Linked DNA regions of Homo sapiens: region 1 is linked to region 2. The links are contacts of gene promoters, found by promoter capture Hi-C in human tissues and cell types (Jung and others, 2019). All regions are on one chromosome and are shown on one strand. Each heading gives the region's core, a stretch centred on a gene start or on the middle of the fragment in contact. The rest is flanking DNA. Distances are from core to core; before and after follow the strand shown.

Evidence for each region. Contacts are between HindIII fragments. The study calls those that stand out against the background at their distance.
Region 1: a contact is called between a fragment that was not itself captured here and the fragment with the promoter of ATP2C2 in region 2, in 3 of the 25 tissues and cell types used here (bladder, mesendoderm cells and neural progenitor cells).

The regions. Positions count from the first base shown.
Region 1 is chr16:84,424,935-84,430,688 of GRCh38, forward strand. It overlaps ATP2C2 (ATPase secretory pathway Ca2+ transporting 2), which reads left to right. Exons shown (of 27, transcript NM_014861.4): 11 at 801-867. Among named protein-coding and RNA genes, the nearest start is that of ATP2C2-AS1, 40 kb to the right of the region's middle. The HindIII fragment of the contact is 5,768 bases long and covers 1,091-5,754 here.
Region 2 is chr16:84,365,207-84,370,597 of GRCh38, forward strand. It overlaps ATP2C2 (ATPase secretory pathway Ca2+ transporting 2), which reads left to right and starts at 3,332. Exons shown (of 27, transcript NM_014861.4): 1 at 3,332-3,508. The coding sequence starts at 3,410. The HindIII fragment of the contact is 8,598 bases long and covers 1-5,391 here.

The sequences.
Region 1 (5,754 bases), core at 2,725-5,224, 60 kb after region 2:
TATTTCCAATAGAGCTCCCCTTGCTAATCTATTTCATTTGAGTTCATTTGGGTTCTAGCTAAGATTTCAGCTGATGACTGAGTTTAGTAGCCAATAGTAGAATGCCCAAAACAAAACTAACAGATACTGTGGCAGCTGCCCCCCTCAATACATACACACACACACCCCGCTACCATCCATCAGAAAACATCCCTGGCCCCCTGGCCCCTGCAAAGCAAAGCTAACGTTCTTTAGCAAGCTCTCCAAGGGTGTCACCTGGCAACACCACCCACCTTCCCAGTCCCTACTCACACCTCCGTGTCTCGTACACCTAGTGCAGTAACTGGTGTGCAGTACGTATTTGGTAAATTATTAATGAAGGAAAATGGAAATGGAGTATATTTAATCATGAGTACCACAGAGTAAAATAATTTGAAAAAACAGTGACCTATCTGCCCATCACAGGAGCAGTTGCATTTGCCACAACAAACACCACATGGGGGGATGTTCTGGATACACGCAGCCGACGGTAAACTTTGGGAATAAGATGTAAATGCTTGCGAACAGTCCAAAATAGACTGATTGAGCCTTTTACTTAAATTTGGCTTGGACCTTTCCTAAGAAAGTAAAATCGGGTTTTTGTAGGTATAAACGTATCTCCCTTAGAAAAGAGAAGAGACGGGTTGAAAGTGGTTGAGGTTATCAGGCGTTCCTCTGTGCATGCATTCCTGTAAACTCTTTAAGGAAGTGAGTTTGAATCCCTCCAGGCATCAGCGTGTGTAGTGCATATGGAGATAAGGATGTTTTTGTCTCTTCCCCAGGTCTCATCATGCTCATTGGCTGGTCGCAAGGGAAACAACTCCTGAGTATGTTCACGATCGGGGTCAGGTAAGAGTGCTATGGCCGCCCCTTGCCTTGCCAGGGTGGTCAATGGGCTCTGAGCCCTTCCCTGCCGCAAGAGAAGGTGGGGAGGCTGCAGAATAGGAAGGGTTGGGAAGGTGCAGCCCCGTCACCCAAACTCCAGCCTCCCAATAGCATGTTCTCCGACAGGTACAGAGTGCCCGGCGAATGCTTGCAAAATGAATGACAGCAAATGATCCAGGGTGTCCCTTTTGTATTAGGCTGTTCTTGCATTGCTAAAAAAAAAAAAAATACCTGAGGCTTGGTAATTTATTAAGAAAATAGTTTAATTGGCCTATGGTTCTACAGGCCGTACAGGAAGCATGGTGTCTGCTCAGCTTCTGGGGAGGCTCCAGGAAGTTTCCAATCAAGGCGGAAGGGGAAGGGGGAGCAGGCATGTCACATGGCAAGAGCAGGGGCAGGAGAGGGAGGAAGGGGAGATGCCACATGCTTTGAAACAATTAGATCTCTCAGGAACTCACTCCAGCAAGAACGGCTCGAAGGAGATGGCGCTAATCCATTCATGAGGGATCCACCCCATCGTCCAATCTCCTCCCACCTCCAACACTGGGGCTTATGTTTCAACTTGAGGTTTGAGTTGGGACACACATTCAAACTGTATCAGCTTTCTTGTCACTCTTTGCCTGTGGGTTTGGGTCTTTCTGGCTAAGAGCAAGGACCCCAGAGCCAGCCTGCCTCTGTTTAAATTCTACGCTTGCCACAAAACTGGAGGTTCTGTGACCTCCAGCAAGTTTCTTAGCTCTCTGTGCCCCAGTTTCCTCCTCTGAAAAATGGGAATGCTCATATACCCTCTCCTAGGGCGACTGTCTGGATTAAAGGAGTTAGTCTGTGCAAGCACCCACATGATACACAGTGCAGAGTGAGTGTTGGCTCTTAATACTGGTTTACAACTCTATCCAAGCCCTTGTCTTACAGAGGAGGCTATCAGAGCGGCAATGGATGTAGAGCCCAAGGCCACACGCGGACAGCAGGGCTGGGAGTCATCATCACTTGATGATGCTAAGCCGAGGGGACCCGCCCTTCTTCTACGTAGTGATTCATAAGTCATCCCAAGCCCCTGGGTCCTGGTGGCCGAGACAGGGAGAGGCACGGGCAGCCCAGCATCGTGCAGCGGTTTGACTTTGTCAGTAGTTCTTCTGTGGCTATTTGCCAAGAGCAAGGGAAGCAGAGGCCGGGGATTGTCACTAACTGGGTATGTCCCATTGGAAGGGAGCCTAGGGGCTGTGCCAGGACACGGAGGAACCAACCCATGTCTAGGCTCATGTCAGGCCCATTGGTTCCCAGACAGTAACGCACACGCAGCTGCTGTCTGCAACGTGTTTTTAGGTGATGTGTGGAAAATCATTCTAGTGTCTGTTCATATGTATATATATGTAATTAATACATCAAACCCATGATGTAAACAAACTTAGATGTCCATCAGCTCATTAAAGAATAAACAACTTAGGTACAGTGGAATATTTTTCAGCCACAGAAAGGAATGAAGTACTGATTCATACTGCAACATGGATTAATGTTGAAGCCATTTTCCTAGGTGAAAGAAGCCAGTTGCACATGTTATATGATTTTATTTATATAAAATATTCAAAAATAGGTCACTCGGCCAGGCGCGGTGGCTCATACCTGTAATCCTAGCGCTTTGGGAGGCCAAGGCAGACGATCACCTAAGGTCAGGAGTTCTAGACCAGTCTGGCCAACATGGTGAAACCCTGTCTCTACTAAAAATACAAAAATTAACTGGGTGTGGTGGCAGGCACCTAAAATCCCAGCTACTCGGGAGGCTGAGGCAGAAGAATCGCTTGAGCCCGGGAGGTGGAGTTTGCAGTGAGCCGAGATTGCGCCACTGCCCTCCAGCCTGGGTGACAGAGCAAGAGACTGTCTGAAAAAAGAAACAAACCAAAACATAGGTCACTTCATAGAAACAGAAAGTAGGTTAGTGTTTGCCAGGGCCTGGGGTTGGGGAGTGTGTAGTGACTCCTAACAGTTATGGGGTTTCCTTCGGGGGTGAAGAAAATGTTCCAAAATTGATTGTGCGGATAGGTGCACGACTCTGCATACACTAACCACCATTCAATTATATATGTTAAAGGAGTGAATTTTATTATATACAAATTATATATCAATAGAGAAACCAGAAAGGTATAGAACAGGCAACTAAGAATGCTGTTATTGAGAGGGTCCTCGGAGCCTTTCTAATTTATATATGAAGAGTAAACCATTATTGCAAATGTGTGCTGTAATGATCATTACAGTGAATTACAGCAGACAAACTCCTGGTGGATTGAGGCATCCCAGTGTGTGCTGGGACACAGAGGTTTGTCCTGCTGGCCAGTGTGGGCAAGAGAATCTTGCTTTAAGGGTTGAGTGTACTGGGTCTGGTACATGGTATCAGGTACCTAGTATCAGGTGTACATGGCTCTGGTGCATAGTCAGGCTTGCCTGTGTATACATGAATGTACACGATTATCTGGTAATTAGTAGTAGAAGAGATTCCAAATGCCTTATTTTTTCAACGACACTGCATGGTGTGCATTAATTGAGGGGCAGGTGGTAAAATCAACATGTGGGCAGCTGTGTGTCCTATGACAAAAGCATTCAATAACTGTTTTTTGAGTTAATGGGAATTGGAAATACTGTGTCTGGCTTTGGATACTTTGTCACTCAGTGTATTTAACAAACAAAATCTTAGTAACACCAAATGCTGAGAGCACACAAAAAAAACATGGAAAAGAGGAGCTGGAATATTATGTGATGATGTGGGCACACAGATGTGATAAAAATCCTAAAAGCAAAATACAAATGACAGACACTTGGAAAACCCCATCCCAGATAAATTCTAAGTCATAATAAGTTCATCTCTTCCCTTAAAGAAAAAAAAATCCTGTAATGAGACACACAAGACATTCAAACCACATCAGAATACCCTTAAATGATAGTTTTCAATAGGAAAAGAAGAACAAGAAAAAAAGCTGTACTCATAGATAATAGTCTTTAGGTTTTAGCTTTAAACAACCTATAAATGAGCGGAGATGTATGCCAGGGGTTGGACTTTCCCCCTAGACCTGTTTGGAACCATGAAAATGATGCAGTGGTGCTGTACAGGTGTCTTTGCTGGGTTGCAGCCCTTTTTCCCTGAATATATGCCCAGGTTCTCGGTTTGTTTTACTAATGGCCCTGCGAAAGGGCATCTTAGGCTCTGGATAATGAAACCCAAGGGGGTCTATTGAATGTAGGATGGTCTTGATCTCTAGTGAATTGGGGCTTTCTGGCTTAATATCCTGAACAGAACGATCTTCATGGCGTTGTTTTTTTTGTTTGTTTGTTTGTTTGTTTTCAGACAGAGTTTCACTCTTGTCGCCCAGGCTGGAGTGCAATGGCACGATCTTGGCTCACTGCAATCTCCATCTCCCAGGTTCATGCAATTCTCCTGCCTCAGCCTCCCAAGTAGCTGGGATTATAGGGGCGCACCACCACACCCAGCTAATTTTTTAAATTTTAAGTAGAGATGGGATTTCACCATGTTGGCTAGGCTGGTCTTGAACTCCTGACCTCAGGTGATCCACCTGCCTCAGCCTCCCAAAGTGCTGGGATTACAGGTGTGAGCCAGTGCTTCCAGCCTTCGTGGAGCTTTTGAGGAGCATTTATCCTTCGGTGTTACTGTGTATAGCACGTGACTGCGTGATCTGTTCGTATCACTTTCATTGAATCCCTTTCATGTTCATGTAGTGTTGGGATTGGGGGAGGTTGTGAACAAGACAGTCATGGTTCCCACCTTCAAAGATTGTAGGTCTCAGTGGGGATGGAGAATCGATGGGAATCAAGGGCTAGAGGAAGAGAGCTGGGAAGAGAGGCAGAGGCAGGTGGGAGAGGGAGCGTGAAGCTGAGATCTGGAGGAGCTGTGGCTGATGTGATGAGGCCTTGGAGGAGACTGGGTGTGCATATTCCTGTGGCTGTCAAAACAAAGCACCACAGGCTGCAGGGCTGGAAACAGAAGCTTATTCTCACCATTCTAGAGGCCAGAAGTCCGAGGTCCAGGTGTGGCAGGAGCATGCTGTTCTTGAAGACCCTAGGGGGAGAATCAGCCAAATGCTTCTCAGCTTCTGGTGTCACAGGCAGTCCTGAGCACATAGATATCTTGCCTCTAGTCTCTGTCTGTCACATGGTCTCCTCCTCTGTCTCTGCGTCTCTTCTCTTCTTTTTATAAGGACGCCAGTTGTATTGGACTAGGGTGGATACTCTAATGACCCCATTTTTATTTGATGATGTCTGCAAAGGCCCTGTTTGCACATAAGGTCACATTCACGTGTACCAGGAGTTAGGATGTGAACATATTTTATTGGAGGGACACAATTCAACCCCTTAGCAGCAGGCACTGGGCTGCCGGGAGAAGGGGGTGGATGGACAACAAGCTCGTTGAAGGAGATGAGGACAAGGAGGCCTGAGCCAGGGCTGGGAAGACCCGTCTACGCGAACGGCAAAGTTGCCAAGAGCAGCCTGCAGGTGGACAGAGTAAAGTCAGTTCTGGGCCGGGTGCGGTGGCTCACGTCTGTAATCCCAGCACTTTTGGACACTGAGGCAGACGGATCACTTGAGGTTAGGAGTTTAAGACCAGGTTGGCCAACATGGTGAAACCCCATCTGTACTAAAAATACAAAAATCAGCTAGGCGTGGTGGCACGTGCCTATAATCCCAGCTACTGGGGGGCAGAGGCAAGAGAATTGCTTGAACCCGGGAGGCAGAGGTTGTAGTGAGCTGAGATCACACTACTGCCCTCCAGCCTGGGCAGCAGAGTGAGACACCATCTCAAAAAAAAAAAAAAAAAAGTCAGTTCTAGAATCTTCAAGGAATTGAAGA
Region 2 (5,391 bases), core at 2,082-4,581:
CAAAAGGCACAGAAATGAAACATGAAAGAGGATGACAGAAGTCAATCTAACAATGACAACTATAACAATGTAAACACAATACATTTCCCTATTTTTTTTTTTTTTTTTTTTTGAGACGGAGTCTCGCTGTGTTCCCCGGGCTGGAGTGCAGTGGCGCGATCTCGGCTCACTGCAAGCTCCGCCTCCCGGGTTCACGCCATTCTCCTGCCTCAGCCTCCCGAGTAGCTGGGACTACAGGCGCCCGCCACCACGCCTGGCTAATTTTTTGTATTTTTAATAGAGACGAGGTTTCACCGTGTTTGCCAGGATGGTGTCAATCTCCTGACCTCATGATCCGCCTGCCTCAGCCTCCCAAAGTGCTGGGATTACAGGCATGAGCCACTGCGCCCGGCCTACATTTCCCTATTATAAAGCAAATCGTTCATATGAAAGTTCTGTTAAATATAAATTTGAATGATCTGCTGTTTATGGGAGACATATTCAAAAATTTTTTGGAGTATTTGCCATGTTTCAGGCACATCATTTACCATAACCAACACTGGTGGAGCCTAATTTACCTAATTTTACACACCACAAATCTAATTTATAGGCCTGGGCAACAGAGCAAAGACCCCATCTCTACATAAAAATAAAAATTAGAAAATTAGCTGGGTGTGGTTCTGTGCACCTGTAGTCCCAGCTACTCAGGAGGGAGTATTGCTTGAACCCAGGAGTTCAAGCCTACAGTGAACTATGATCGCGCCAGTGCCCTCCAGCCTGGACTACAGAGTGAGACCTTGTCTCTAAAATGTACATGCATATATCCACCACCTAGAGTTTCCTTCTGGAATGCCCTGGGCATTTTCGAACCTAGCCCAGGAATTCCAGCCTTGACATCTCTGGGCTGGAGCGGAAGCCATGGTGATAGGATCCGAAAGGCTGGGCTTTCAAATCCTCTGCTCCGGGGATGCTGATCTGCCTGGAGAGATGACATCTGGTTAACAGCTTGGAAAAACATGAAGATGCCAACAAGGCGTTCTTCTTCCCTGGATCCAACATCATTTTAAAATCACAGAATGCCACTTGGGAAGGACCTGAGAAATAACTGAGCCAAGTTCCCATATGTTCTTTTATATTAATAATATAGAAGCGCCTGAGAGCCTGCAATGTCGGGTACCACGACATCGTACTACTACATCATACCTGTGCAAGCATTCACTCAGCCTGAACCACAGGATGCTGAGGTTGGCTGCGGGATGTCTCCTCCTTGTTCCTCTACAACACTCTTTTTTTTTTGTTTGTTTGACATGAAGTCTTGCTCTACTGCCCAGGCTGGAGTGCAGTGGCACAATCTTGGCTCCCTGCAACCTCCACCTTCCGGGTTCAAGCGATTCTCCTGCCTCAGCCTCCGAAGTAGCTGGGATTACAGGCGCATGCCAGCACACCTGGCTAATTTTTCTATTTTTACTAGTGACAGGGTTTCCCCATGTTGGCCAGGCTGGACTCGAACTCCTGACCTCAGGTGATCCGCCCACCTTGGCCTCTCAAAGTGCTGGGATTAGAGGTGTGAGCCACCTTGCCCAGCCTCCTCTACACCACTCTCCACCCTTCTTTGGATTCTCTGCCCAGGAGGCTGCATCCTTGGCGCTCTGTTGCTTTCTGGCTTTTGATCTAAGCAGTTGCCCTCTGCAGAAGTTATCAGTGCCCCAGAGCTCCCCCTCCAGGTAACTCCTCTCTCGTCTGGCCCTTCAGGCCTTGGGTGGGACCAAAGCCACTTCTCACTCTTTGCTAGTCTTCGTTAATGACACAAGCACTTCTGGTTTCTCTACGTCTTCCCCACAGCTTTGTAAAAAGTCTGTTTCTCAAACTCTCCTCAAATTACTATTTCCTACTGGGACCCTGACTCCTACGGGTAGGTAGTGACATCCCCATTTTATGGATGAGTAAACTGAGGTGGAGAGAGGTGAAGAAAATTGCCCAAGGTCGGAAAGGAACATTCCTGGGATTCAAATCTGGACTCACTCACATCAGAGGTTTGCTGTTACCATTATTCCTGCACCTTTGTTGAAACTGGGGAGTGGGGCCAGGCTGATACCGTAGCCTTTGTTTCCTTGAAAGAGGAAGATGCAGGAGATACAAGAAGGGGCACTGGAACTGCCCTGCAGGTTTTCGTGGCCTGGAGTCAACCCTCGGGAGCAATTGAGGTAGGTGGCAAATATTTGCTCAAAAGGGGTGGCTGAATTTCGTGGACAAATGCAGAGGGCACCTCCTGTAGCCCGTGAGTAACTTCCCTGTAGAGATGAGGAAGCCAGCGGAAAGGCGGGTGGCACGGACTTCCCCAGAGCTCCCCCTCTGCTAAGTGGTGGGTCTAGTTACGGATCTAGTCCTACCTGAAGCCAAAGAAAGCCCTGGAACTTCAAAGCACCCACTTGGCTGCTGGCAACTGTCTACACTGCGTATGGACTCACATACTTTGGGAGCCATTTGAGCCCAGCACCTTCTGATGATGAAGAGGAGGAGGATGGTGTCATGGGGACACCAGCACATTCTCTACTCCAAGCCCTGCTCGAGACCTTCCTGTACAGCACTGTCCGCTGGGGCCTCTCCATGTCACTGTGAAGGAGGCGCTATCGTGGTGGCCATTCTGCAGAGCAGTAAACCAAGGCGCTAAAAATATAAGAAACCTGCTCAGGTCCCACGACGAGCAAGAGCGGCGCTCATCCTGCAGACGAGGACAGGGGCCCTGACCATCCGAGACCATGCAGGCGCCAAAGGCAGCAGGGCTCTCAGTCGCTCCTGTTCCTGGACTCACTCCCAGGGCCCTGGAGGTGGGGGTCTTAGCCTTCTGCTGCTCCCCGCTCAATGACAGGCTAGGTTGCCGAGGCTCAGAAAGGCCACGTGACCCGTCCAGAGTGCACAGCCGCAGGTGTGAGTCTGACTGAGCTCCAGCCACCTCGCTCCCGGCGCCTTAGAGCCGCCCACCCTGGGTTCCTCAAGAGGATCACCTGGGGCTCGTTAAAAACCCAGCTCCCGGCGGCTCCAAACCGTGACTGGGCAGGGAGGGGTCTGGGAATCCGGATTTTAAACCAGCATTTGCTCCTCCACCTCCCCCACTCCAGGTGATTCTTAGGATCTGTAAGTTTGGGAAACAGCCCAAGCCCTGAGGCGACGCAGCCTCTCCCTGGGCCTTTCATGGCCAGCCGGCGCTGTCCCCAGAGCCCCTGGGGTCCCAGGCGAGCTCGCGGGGCGGGGCCGGGTGAGCCGGCACCTCCCTGTGCGCAGCCCCGCCCCAGGGGCGGGGCCTCACCTGCCGCGGGCAGGTAGACAGCTACCTGGTAACCGGGTCCGGCCCAGGAGGCTTGGGCGCGCGCAGCCATCCCGGGCCTCGCCGGGGACCTAGGGACGCAGGCAACGCCTGCGCCCGCTCACCATGGTCGAGGGACGCGTCTCCGAGTTCCTGAAGAAACTCGGCTTCTCGGGCGGGGGCCGCCAGTACCAGGCGCTGGAGAAGGACGAAGAGGAAGCCTTGGTGAGTCCCCGCGACTCCGCGCCGGGCGTGCGACCCGACCCCCCATCCCCTCCGTCGTAACCGTCCCCGGCCCGAGACCCCGCGTTCGCGCTGCGATCCGCGAACTCGCCCTCCTCCCCTGGCTCTGGAAAGAAGCTGTCCTCACAGCAACCGCGCTCTCATCTGCGCTCTGGCGCGGGGAGCTCAGCATGGAACCCTCACGTGAACCCATTTTGTGGTTGAGAAACTGAGGCCGAGAGTGGTTAAGTATATTCCCTAAGGGGCACGGAGCTAGGAAGTGACCTGGCTGGGAACTTAACCTAGGTTTCTCTGACTCCAGAGAATTAAAATTCCTGGGTCTCCAGACTTGGGCTGCTTTATGGATTTTTAAAACTTAAATTGGAAAATAAAATTAGAGGGATGCAAAAAACAAAAGATTGCTGAAATGTTGTAGCAATAATAGAAAGCAAAGTTGGAGCTGAGGGACCTCCCAGCCTCACTTCCTACAGTCAGGTACTTTTAGAAAGTCACTCAGAGCTGTATGCCTGCTTTGCAACCTTCAGGGACCCTCTGGGATAAAGCAGCAGGGTGCCAGGGCAGGGCGGTTCATGAGGGAACGAAGTGGCAAAGCTGTCAAATAAAGCCCCTCCTGTTCCTTGGATTCTTGGAAGCCAGGGGTGAAGCCAGGCTTGAGGGTGACCCAACACCCTTCTTTTTAGCTTCGCAAACAGAACTCGTTGCATGCTTTAAGGTCAGGGGGGCACTGAATTTCTGCAGAAGCGTTTCTCTGCACGCCAGAGGGTCGTTGCACTTTTTTTTTTTTCATTTACGCTTAAGCAGTCGTTCAAAAGTAACATTTCTGAACGAGTCCCCTGGGTTGCTAATTAGAAATATGACTTGGCGATGGCCTTTTGACCAGTGAAAGGAAACTTCAAAGGTAAACTTACCTTTTAATTAAAAAAAGAAATTAGCTGAAAAAATATTTGACTTAAAATTTTATTTTTTTCTCCCAAAGAATACTAATGGTCAAAACATTTTGTTTGTGAGATTAAGTATTCGTGCTTTTTTAAAAATAGTGTTTTGTGCTTTTTTAAAAATAGTGTTTTATACATCCCTGTTGATGTAAGAATTCTGGTCTTAGGGTGGTAGGCCACAGGACCACGTAACTAGCAGTTTTTGAGCAATCTCGATTTTTCTGAAGTGGCATGTTAATATTGATAGGATATAGAGTTCAATTAATTGGCTGTGATCCATTTCTCTGCTTCTGCGATACATTCTGCTAAAGGAGTTTGAAGTTTATTTGCCATCACAGGTTGCCTTTCCTATGTTGCCATTCCTGTTTTTTCCTTTCCATCTTTTGATTCTTGCATCAGGCCAGGTATTTTTCAAACTCTCCTGGTGTGTAGTTGGTTACCATCAGGTTTCACAGGATGTCCAGGAATGCAGGTGCATGGATGATGTAACCTCAAGGGAGATGCTGGGAGAGTTTGATCTCTGTGCCAGGTGGACTCGTCCCTCCAAAGCTTTGCAGGAGAGTTCTCAGAGGTCTGACAGGTGTTCAGCCGGTCTGTCAGTGTGCTCTCCCACCTGGCTGTGGACCGGGGTGCTCTCAGCAGCATCCTGAGGCCCTGGGTGCGTGATGATGGGCAGTGTGCAGCGCCAGGAGGCGGGTGATACCAGCACTGACACCAAAGGCCAGCTGAGAAAGAAGCCATGCTGTCTCCAGAGGCAGCCTTGTGCAAACCCAGGAAATGTGCAAACCCAGGAAATGGCAATGAAGATCGATGGGAAGTGTGAGGAGGGAGGGAGGTGGGGAGGCCGGGTGGCTGGGCGAGGCACTCACTTCCTGCCAGGTTGGCTCAGACCTGAACACCTCCTTTGCTGTCATACTCATGTCCTCTCGT